2 separate regions of the Homo sapiens genome follow, and region 1 is linked to region 2. Evidence: promoter capture Hi-C in human tissues and cell types (Jung and others, 2019). All regions are on one chromosome and are shown on one strand. Each heading gives the region's core, a stretch centred on a gene start or on the middle of the fragment in contact. The rest is flanking DNA. Distances are from core to core; before and after follow the strand shown. Region 1 overlaps PRKCZ (protein kinase C zeta). Region 2 holds the start of GABRD (gamma-aminobutyric acid type A receptor subunit delta).

The links. The method cuts DNA at HindIII sites, captures the fragments that hold promoters and counts their contacts. A contact is called where the count stands out against the background at its distance.
Region 1: a contact is called between a fragment that was not itself captured here and the fragment with the promoter of GABRD in region 2, in 4 of the 25 tissues and cell types used here (IMR-90 fibroblasts, dorsolateral prefrontal cortex, mesendoderm cells and 1 more).

The regions. Positions count from the first base shown.
Region 1 is chr1:2,112,852-2,117,848 of GRCh38, reverse strand. The region is part of intron 4 of PRKCZ (protein kinase C zeta); the gene reads right to left. Among named protein-coding and RNA genes, the nearest start is that of PRKCZ, 65 kb to the right of the region's middle. The HindIII fragment of the contact is 4,407 bases long and covers 749-4,997 here.
Region 2 is chr1:2,017,898-2,022,609 of GRCh38, reverse strand. It overlaps GABRD (gamma-aminobutyric acid type A receptor subunit delta), which reads right to left and starts at 3,265. Exons shown (of 9, transcript NM_000815.5): 1 at 3,119-3,265. The coding sequence starts at 3,186. It overlaps LOC105378589 (a long non-coding RNA gene), which reads left to right and starts at 4,522. Exons shown (of 2, transcript XR_001737844.3): 1 at 4,522-4,712. RefSeq lists enhancers at 3,093-3,670, 3,671-4,249. The HindIII fragment of the contact is 31,331 bases long and covers 1-4,712 here.

The DNA.
Region 1 (4,997 bases), core at 1,703-4,202, 96 kb before region 2:
CAATCCATAGAATTCATCGTATGAACAGAATAAAGGAGAAAAGTTCTGTCACATCAATAGATGAAGGAAAAAAAGCATCTGAAAAAATTCAGCACCATTCATATTAACAACTTTCAACTAGGAATAAAATAGAACCTCTTTAATTTGTTGGTGGGGATTTACGAAGGAAAAACAGTATTTCCGCAAACAGCACCCTTAATGGTGGAATTCTTAAAGCTTTTCCCTGAAATCAGGCACGAGAGGATGTGGCTGTCACCACTTCTGTCCCATACTGTTTTGGAAGGATCAACAGTGCCAGGGTAACAAGGCAACATCTGAAGGAAAGGCAGAAACAAACAGCCGGTCACTGACAAAATGGCAGCGCACAGAGAGGTTCCGGAGCAACCACAGACAAACTACGGGGACCAGGAGAGGCCAAGACAAATGAGTTAATCACACTTCTTTACACATTGCTATAAACAAAAAGATAAAAAAAAAAAAACTGTAAAAGTAATACGGCTTAAAACAGCATAAGCACTGAAATACCAGGGAATCATTTGAACAAAAAATGTGGATGACCGCTACACACAAGACTACAAAATATTATTGAAAGAATTTAAGGCCGGGTGCAGTGGCTTGCATCTGTAATCCCAGCACCTTAGGAGGCTGAGGCAGAAGGACCACTTGAGCCCAGGAGTTCAAGACCAGCCTGGGCAACATAGGGAGACCCTGTCTCTACAAAAAAATGCCAAAATAGCTGGGCATGGTGGTGCACACCTGTAGTCCCAGCTACTTGGGAGGCTGAGGTGGGAGGATTGCTTGAGCCCAGGAGGTCAAGGCTGCAGTGAGCCATGATCATGCCACTGCACTCCAGCCTGGGCAAGAGTGAGGTCCTGTCTGCCCCCCGCAACTCCCCTGCCAAAAAAACCCCAATCAAAGGCCTAAAGATATGTTCACGGATTGGAAACCTCAGTATTGTAAAGATGCTAATCTCCCATACTGATCAAGAAATCCAAATGCAATCCAAATGTCTTATGGAGATTTTGAAAGCAAATAAGCCAACTGTAAATGGCTTATTAACAAGCCCATGTGTATGGAAATGTAAAAAGCCAATAACCAAGATAACCTTGAAAACTAAAAACCCCAAATTGGAGACTCATAACACAAGTTACCAATGGTGATTATAAAGCAGAAGAAATCAGAACAGTACGACATGGGGGCAAAAAACAAAGGGGACAGATCAGTCCAGAAAGAGGCCCCACACACAGCCAGGACGCAAAAGCCCTAATTATAAAGTAAGCTTTTACTTTCTGTTCATCAGAAGACACCATCCATGGAGTGGAAGGCGAGCCGCGGAGTGACAGAAGCTGTTTGCAACACAAAAAATCAAAGCACTTGTCTCTAAAACACACACAGCCCCCAGGAACCAACAAAAAAGACGGACCCCCCAATGACATTGTTCTTTGACAGCCCAATTTTGAAATGGGGCAAAAGACTGGAACAGGCACCTTTAAAAGGAGGGTCCCCAATAACCCGGGAGCCTCGGAGAAGCAGCTCACCTCAGCCGTCGCGAGGCCACAGCCTAGTGCCTTTCAGATCTGCTGTGCTGGCGACAACGCAGGGCTCTGACAGTCCATGTGCTGGAAGGAGGTGCATCGGGAATTCCCACACGACCCAGAGTGACTGTGCCATCAACACAGATTCAGCCTTTGTCTCAGTTTCCCAGCGCGCAGCCCCTCTGACCCTAGGAATCCTGGAGTGCGGTAAGAGTGTCTTTTTGCATGCTAATGAGATGACGGGGAGCCGGGAGCCGGGACAGCTCCAGGATGCGGCTGGTCTTCAGCAGGACCAAGGAATGCCTAGCGGGTTGGAACTTTCCGTCCCACAGCCCACGGTCCAGAGAGGAGACAGGAGAGACTGAGGTAATCAGCAGTGGCTGGCTGTTGAATCAACCGTGCCTGTCACGAAGCCTCCACAAAAAGCCCTCAATGACATGGTCTGGAGAGTGTCCGAGTTGGTGAATATACCAAGGTGCTGGAGGGTGGCGTGCCTGGAGAGGGCACGGAAGCTCTGCACCCCCCATACCTCAGCCTCCCGTGCAGCTCCTCCGTGTGGCTGTCCTTTCTAATAAACGGGTACACTAAGCAAAGTGTTTTCCTGAGTTCCGGGAGCTATTCTAGCCCACCCGAGCCTCAGGAAGGGGTCACGGACACCCCCGATTCACAGCCAGTTGGTCAGAATCCAGGTTGTCACCTGGCACTTGCAGCTGGCTCTCAAGTAGGGGCAGGCTTGTGGGAATGAGCCCTTCATCTGCAGGGTCTGCGCTAACGTCAGGTAATTGATGTCAGAGCTGAATGGAAACACAGGACACCCAGCTGGCGCCAGAGTGGCTGTGGGTGCAGAAAACCCCACATAACTGGAGGCAGAAACACAGTGCAGAGTGCGACCTGGTGCGGCCACGCGAGGGAAACGTCTGTTTCCCGGAAACTCCACTCCTGGGTGTGCCCACATGAAAGATGCGCCACGGGCAACAGAAGGCGCTCGGATGTCTGTGGCCAAAAGCCGGGACCCCGGTGCCTCGCAAGATGAGGGTGGATACATAAGACGTGGAGAATTCAGCCAGCAGAGCAGCCCCGCAGTGGGGACGGACACGGCAGAACCGCACCCCACACCACGGGAAAGCCCCACACAGGGGCCCGACTGAGCGGCCACACCCAGGGTGGATGGCCCCGGATCCCAAGACAAAAGCTCGAAACAAGCAAAACTATCTGCAGGCACCAAGGCCGGGGACGGGTAGGTTACGCCTGGGGTCACCTCGGGGTGTGGGGGTGGCCCCGCGTCCAGAGGACAAGCTACACACGGATCAGCTATGTGACGCGGTGCAGTTTGCTTTGTAAAAACTCGTGGAGTTGAACGCTTCAGATTTCATGTTTTAGGGAGTTTTGTTTCAATTTTAAAAAGTCAAGAAAGAAAAAGAAATCAGAGAATGGAGGCACCCAGGCCGTAACATTCTTTCCATAAGAAAAGCTGAAACCCAACGGCAGGCGGCTCCACCTGCTGCATCTTAGCTTTTTCTTTTTCTTTTTCTTTTTTTTTTGAGACGGAGTCTCGCTCTGTCACCAGGCTGGAGTGCAGTGGCACGATCTCGGCCCACTGCCACCTCCACCTCCCGGGTTCAAGCGATTCTCCTGCCTCAGCCTCCCGAGCAGCTGGGACTACAGGTGTCCACCACCACACTCGGCTAATTTTTGTATTTTTAGTAGAGACTGGATTTCACCGTGTTAGCCAGGATGGTCTCAAACTCCTGACCTCGTGATCTACCCGCCTCGGCCTCCCAAAGTGCTGGGATTACAGGCGTGAGCCACTGCGCCCAGTCATCTTATCTTTTTCTTCAGCTTATTTTATTTGCTCTGTAAGCTTAACTTTTGTGAGCTGAACTCCAAAGTCAACCTGCTGTTTGATTATTTTTGTGACTTGTTTCAAATAAAACCTCTTCTAAGAATTAATGTCCACCATATTCCTTTTTTGTCCAACAAAATAAGTCATCTCTTCTGTTTCAAATGTTCCTTCCCTCATTGGACACTGTGCTTGGGCTACCTGTATTAACACAGATCCCTGGAGAGCACGTTCTCAACACACAAGACGAACCTGCCCTGCATCCGGGGTCCCTCCTTCCACGTCCTCCCAGGCCACGACGGAGCGTCCTCCTGGAGAAAAGCTGGGGTGGGAGGGTGGGGGGGTGCAGCCCTCTGCTGTTTTTATCTCCTGAGCATTCCGAACGCTTCCACAAACTTACGCAGCCGGCCATACCCTCACCCACGCGCCACACGCACCACACACACAACATGGCGCCCGCTCTCCCTCCCCCAGAGCCAGCCCCGTGGAGCCCTTGACCGGTGGCACCCAATCCCCAGGGCATGGATGCTGTGGGCTGGGCCCCCGCCCTCTCTACACTCCCACACCATCATCTCCCCTCCCTCAAACACATGGGCACTGCGGTCCCTTCTCCCTGCCCCAACACCAGTGCCTTGACCTCCCTCCTCCTTGGCCACACCACCCACCTGCCATCCCTGGAGTCACCCCCACAAGGACTGGACCACAGCCTCTGCCCCATGAGTCCTCTGTGCCCCAACTCTCACCCACCCCCCAGCATTCTCCACGGCAGCTAGGCTGCCATTGGCTCTCAGAGATACCACTACTTCGTGCATCATGAGGAAAGACAAAAAATGTTGCCAACTCAACTGGGACACAGACAGGCAGGCTGCACCCCCTTCCAGGATGTCAGGATAAGAGAAGTCCATCCCAGCTCACTCAAGGCCCTGGTCGCCTCTGACAAAGGGGCTATCGGATGCTGCCTCTGTGCCACTTCCGAGTTTCTGGCTGACACCCTGGTCCTCACCTGCTGGCTTCCACCTGCCCTGGGTCAGGAGCGAACTCGGGCAGAAAATATGAATGCCCCGGATGAGCCCCCCTCAAAGCCCAAGATGGGGAGACATCAGGTAGAAGCAGCAGGAGCACATACTTGGCGATCCACAGGCAGCCCACCGAAGAGAACGTCACAGTCACCACAAATCACTGCTGAAGGCGAGACCAGTGGGGAGGAAACGGGGCGGCTGCCTTTTTAAACCTTACGTTAAAACCTTACATTAAAAAACATACTCATGAATCGAGGTACTCGCTAGTCAGAACTGAGACCCTGGAGGGATCCCCCGGGGCCCTGACTGGTGCTGCAGGCCCTCAGGCAGTGCCCGGCTCCAGAGCAGGAGAGGCAGGCACCTGGGTGACCCGGCCAGCCTCGGCCAGCAGTGGGCAGGCCCTAGCCAAGCCACTGTCTTTCCTTCAGCTGATGACTGTAAGTCACAAATGTAAAGAAAATGGGGCCGGGCGCAGTGGCTCAAGCCTGTAATCCCAGCACTTTGGGAGGCCAAGGCAGGCGGATCGCCTGAGGTCAGGAGTTCGAGACCAGCCTGGCCAACACGGTGAAACCCCGCCTCTACCAAATATAGAAAAAAAATAGC
Region 2 (4,712 bases), core at 2,016-4,515:
ACCAGCCCAGCTGCCATCTAGCCTGCCTGGAATGAGGCCACAGGAGACACCGTCCTTCCTGGGCCACATCTCTTGCCCATCTCAGGGTGGTGGCACATGTGGGGGGGCACGAAGGCAAGGCCAGGAGCAGCCCCCGCCACGAAGCTCACCTGGAGGCACCTTTGCCATCTCCTGGGGGCGAGAAGGAAGCAGGCTCCCACCCCCACGCCATTTCTCACCTAGGAGAGCCCCCGGTCGTTTTCCCACCGTGAACAGATGGGAAGGGCCAGAGTGCGGGGGCGTGCGCTTCATGCCAGACTCTGGGGTCTGGAGGGCCCCTCACTTCCTCAGGTCAGGATGTACAAGGGAGGCAGATCTAGCGGGGGCTGGGGGAACACAGCCTGCACCAGCGGAGATAGGCACAGGGTGGGGCTGTCCTGACTCTGGTATGTCACGGAGACCTCGGGAGAGGGCTGCTGCCTCACCTGGTGGCCCTGGGGCCCAGTGGTGGCCTGAGCTTGGGGTTTCCTGTGGGTGGATGGACAGAGAGGCTCAGGGCTACACACCAGGCTCCAAGTCTACACTCAGATTTAGGACTCCAAACTCAGGGGGCAGAGTGGGCACCATGAAGACATGGCAGCTTCCCCCTCGGGTGGCTCTCCATGGGTCACCTGGCCTCCTGCCCTCCTGGCCCCACTGAAAAACAAACCCATCCCTGTCACTTGTCTGCGCCCTGGGGACAGACAGGGAAGGTAGATGTAGCTGGGATCCTCCCCCTGCAGGCTTCTCCACGGCGCACACCCAGCCCACATATCCCACAGCCCTGCTTTTAGAGCAGCTCAAGCCTCCCAGCATTGCAGTTACCAAGGCGAAGAGGAGCACCGCCACCAGCGCACCGCGAGCTGGCACGGTAGGAGCCGCAGCACAGCTTCTCCAGGGAGACGGAGGTGCCGGCAGCCCGGGAGGGCCACCCACGCGGGCATGCAGTCGGCAAGCTCGGTGCCTGCCGCGTGCACGGGTCTTCACACTCCGGGCCGACCCACGGCCGCCACGCAGCACACTCCCTTCCTATCCCACCCAGCCTTTCCCATGAGGAGCTGCTGCAATGGGGACCTGGGGTAATGGCCAGAATGGGTCCCACTGACGTCCAATACAGCTCCAGGACAAGGACCCCGAGACTGAGGGAAGGGAGGGCGGCTGTCCTGGTTTCTGGAGTGTAGGGGCACAGATACAGAGAGGCCCTTCATGGACAGCACCCCGCTAAGTCTGAAGGTGGCCCCTAGGGCTGAGTTGGCAGGTGCTTCCACCCTGGGGAGACCCTCCAGGCCTGCCCCTAGACGCCAAGAGCAGGAGGTTGAGCCCAGCACATGTGTGTGGACAGGATGACCTCAAAGGAGAGGCTGCAGCATGCAGCCAGGTGGTAACTGTTTTTAACTAGAGAGCGAAAGGGGAGCTGAGCAAAGCAGTGCACCTCTCACCAGGCAAGGTGTCCTCCCCAACGGCACCCCTCTTCCAGGGATGGGAGTGACTGCAGGCCCAGAGGCCCCCCACTCCTGGCTGGGCCGTGGCCTTCCAGCTTTCCTGCCCAAGGAAACAGGCACAGAATCCCTTCCCCGTCAGCCCAGGAGCCAGATGCAGGCCAGGATTAAGGATCTTCAGATTTTAGAGCAGGGAAATGGTGGACACAGAGGCTGTGGCTGGGGGCGGCCTGAAGAATTTCCCAGCAGGAAGTGTATATAAATAATCCCAGAAGTAGGATTAATAAAGATGAGAAGAGTCTCACGTCCATGCGGGACGGGACTTGCTGCCAACTGAATTCTGGTGTCGAACTTGGGCTAAAACTTTGGGGTTTCAGAGCCGTCTGGATTTCAGCCTCTTGGCTAAGTGGCCGTGGGCCTGGGCTGGCAGCTGTCCCCATGGCTCCAGCACAGCATCCACAACTGTGCCCCGAGCTTCGTCCTTCCTCTCACCTTGAAGGAGGGGAAGGACAAAGGGAGAAAGGCCCACTGGGATTGATGGAAGAACAAAGCTCTTCCCAGGACACGGGCTGCTTAGAGCCAGGGGCAGTGCCGACCCCGCGGTCTCCTGATGGGCACACGGCTGCAGCTGGACCCAGGCCTTCTGGGCTCTGTCCCCCGCACCTCCAATGGGAAAACTCTGACACACCGCCCCGTGTTGGGTGCTGCCATCTCTACTACGGTCAGCCACCTCTATATCTACATCTTCACGGTCTCTGAGATCCTGAATGCTGGGGGATGGCTCTTTGCTGTTTCTTCTGCAGTCTTTGCACTGAGGTGATTTTCAAAGACGCCCCTAAATGTCCTCTCGTGACTCCTAGGGAAGGCGGCCAGCCAGGCCCCGTGGTGGGGCCAAGTTGCCTGGGTGGCTGAGGAGCCCATTTCAGATCCCCAGAGAGGAGATGGGGGGGCACTGTAGGCCAGAGGGGGCTCCAGCCCCGGGGGGCCTCCTTCTCAGCCTCTTCCTTCTCTGGGGAGTCCCTCCCAAAATAGTTAAGAAATCCACCATCTCTTTTCTGTGGCCAGGGGCACCTGGCCGCCGTCCACCTGCACACACTCAGGAGTTCTGCCCACGCCATTTGAAACGGACTCTGAAAGGAGACCCCGGAGGCCGGGCCCACCCTCCACAGCGAGACAGCCTCCTCCGTCCGTCCCAGACCCTCCGGCTGGGGAAGCTCACTGGGGGAACGGGGAACGGCTCCCCCGCAAAGGGAGCAGCCTCCCCGCACCGAGTTCTCAGGTCTTTCCTCTCCTCAAGGCACCCGCCGGGCAGGGACCCGCGAGTGCCGCGGACCCGGGGACCCTCCACGCGCGCCGCGGAGCAGGGGAACCGGGAGGCTCCGACGCCCTCGCCCAGCCCAGGTTCAGCACCAGGACGGCGGACAGCACCGGGCGGGGGCGGCCAGCGCGGGGGTCGCCGCGTCCCGAGCCCAAGGGCAGCGTCCGGGCGAGTCCAACGAGGGGCCCGCGGGGCAAGACCCCGGGGAGGGAGGACGCGGGGCTCTCAGACTTGGGGTCCGGGGCCCGGGGCTCGCGCCGGCCGCTCTCCCAGCCGCTATCTCGGGCCGACGCGGGCCCCCCACCGCCCCCGACCCCGCGCCGCGCGGACCCCGCCCGCTCACCTGGTGCCGCGGAGCTGCTGCGCGCAGAGGAGCAGGAGCGGGGCCAGCAGCCGGGCGGGCGCGTCCATGGCCGCGGCGGGCTCGGGACGGGGTCCGCGCAAACTTGGCTCCCGGCGGCCGCACAGGCGGCACAGGCGGGCGGGAGCTGAGCGAGCGCGGCGCGGGCGCGAGGGGGCGGACGGAGCGCGGAGCCCGCCCCGAGCCCGCCCCAGCCCGCCGCTCCCTGCAGCCCGGCCCCGCCCGCCGCTCCCCTCTCCTCCCCCCGCCCCCCGCCCCATCCCGCCCCCCTCCGCCAGCCGCGCCCCCTCCCTCGCGGGCAGCTCTCCCTGGCCGGGGTCTGGCTCTCCGGGACCGCTGCCCTCACGCGCCGCAGACGGGACCCTCCGGGTGTCTTCATGGGAGGCGACACCGGCACAAGCCCCGCGTGGACACTGTGGCCCACGGGCGCGGCAGAACCTCGTCCCGAGGCGGTTTGTGGGGGGTCGCACGTCTGCGTGGCTGCTTCTGGCTGCGCCGGCGGTGGGTGGGGAGGGGGCCAGTCCCTGCAGCTGTCAGGAGAGAGACCCCCACCAGCGGCTGCTTCCAAAACCCTCCTGCCTTCGCGGGAGCTGGGGCCAGGCGACTTTGGGAGCAAGTCCTGATCCCTGGGGACCCTCGACGGGGGCGGGGAGAGGAAAAGCAGGTGGGGGCTGCGCCGCAGGCCGCAGTTCTGACTCTCCACACCTCTCATGGCCCCAGGCCCGCCCTCCACACCCCTAGGATCTGGGAAAGGGAAGGCCTCACACTCTCCTGCCTTGGATCTTTTGAACATAAAGTTGCGCTGCCATTTCCTGAAGCTGCTCACAAACTTTAATCATTGTTGTGTCAGTTATTCACTTCTGGGCTCGCGATGTCGCTGACAGCACAGTGTCAACCCCTCGTGAAAACACTTAAAAATGGCGAAGCTGTCCCCGAGGCTGCGTGCTTCTGGATGAAGGGCCCTGGCCGCACAGGGGCAGGTGGAGGAAAGTGCAGAGAGGGATTTGCTTCGGAATTTCCAGCCCAATCCCTACTGTGGGAAGTGGAAGAATGAGGCTGGTTCCAGTTTGCTTGCTTTATTTATGTTATGTTATGTTATGTTATGTTATGTTATGTTATGTTATGTTATGTTATGTTATTTTTCGAGATGGAATCTGGCTCTGTTACCCAGGCTGGAGCACAATCTCGGCTCACTGCAACTTCTGCCTCCCAGGTTCAAGCAAGTCTCCTGCCACAGCTTCCCGAGTAGGTGGGATTACAGGCACCTGCCACCACGCTCGGTTATTTTTTTGTATCTTTAGTACAGACGGAATTTCACCATGTTGGCCAGGCTGGTCTCGAACTCCTGACCCCGTGATCCGCCCGCCTCGGCCTCCCAAAGTGCTGGGATTACAGGCGTGAGCCACTGCACCCAGCCCTAGCCTGCTTTCTTAAATCAAGGAACGGGGCTCTAACAAGCCCAACAGGTCTCAACTCCAAGGCCCCCTTCCCGGCTGCTCACTGGCCCCTGCCGAGAGGGGTCCTTTGGGTACAGAAGCACTGACCTCCCTGTGTTCCCGGGGTTCCTGTCCGAGCC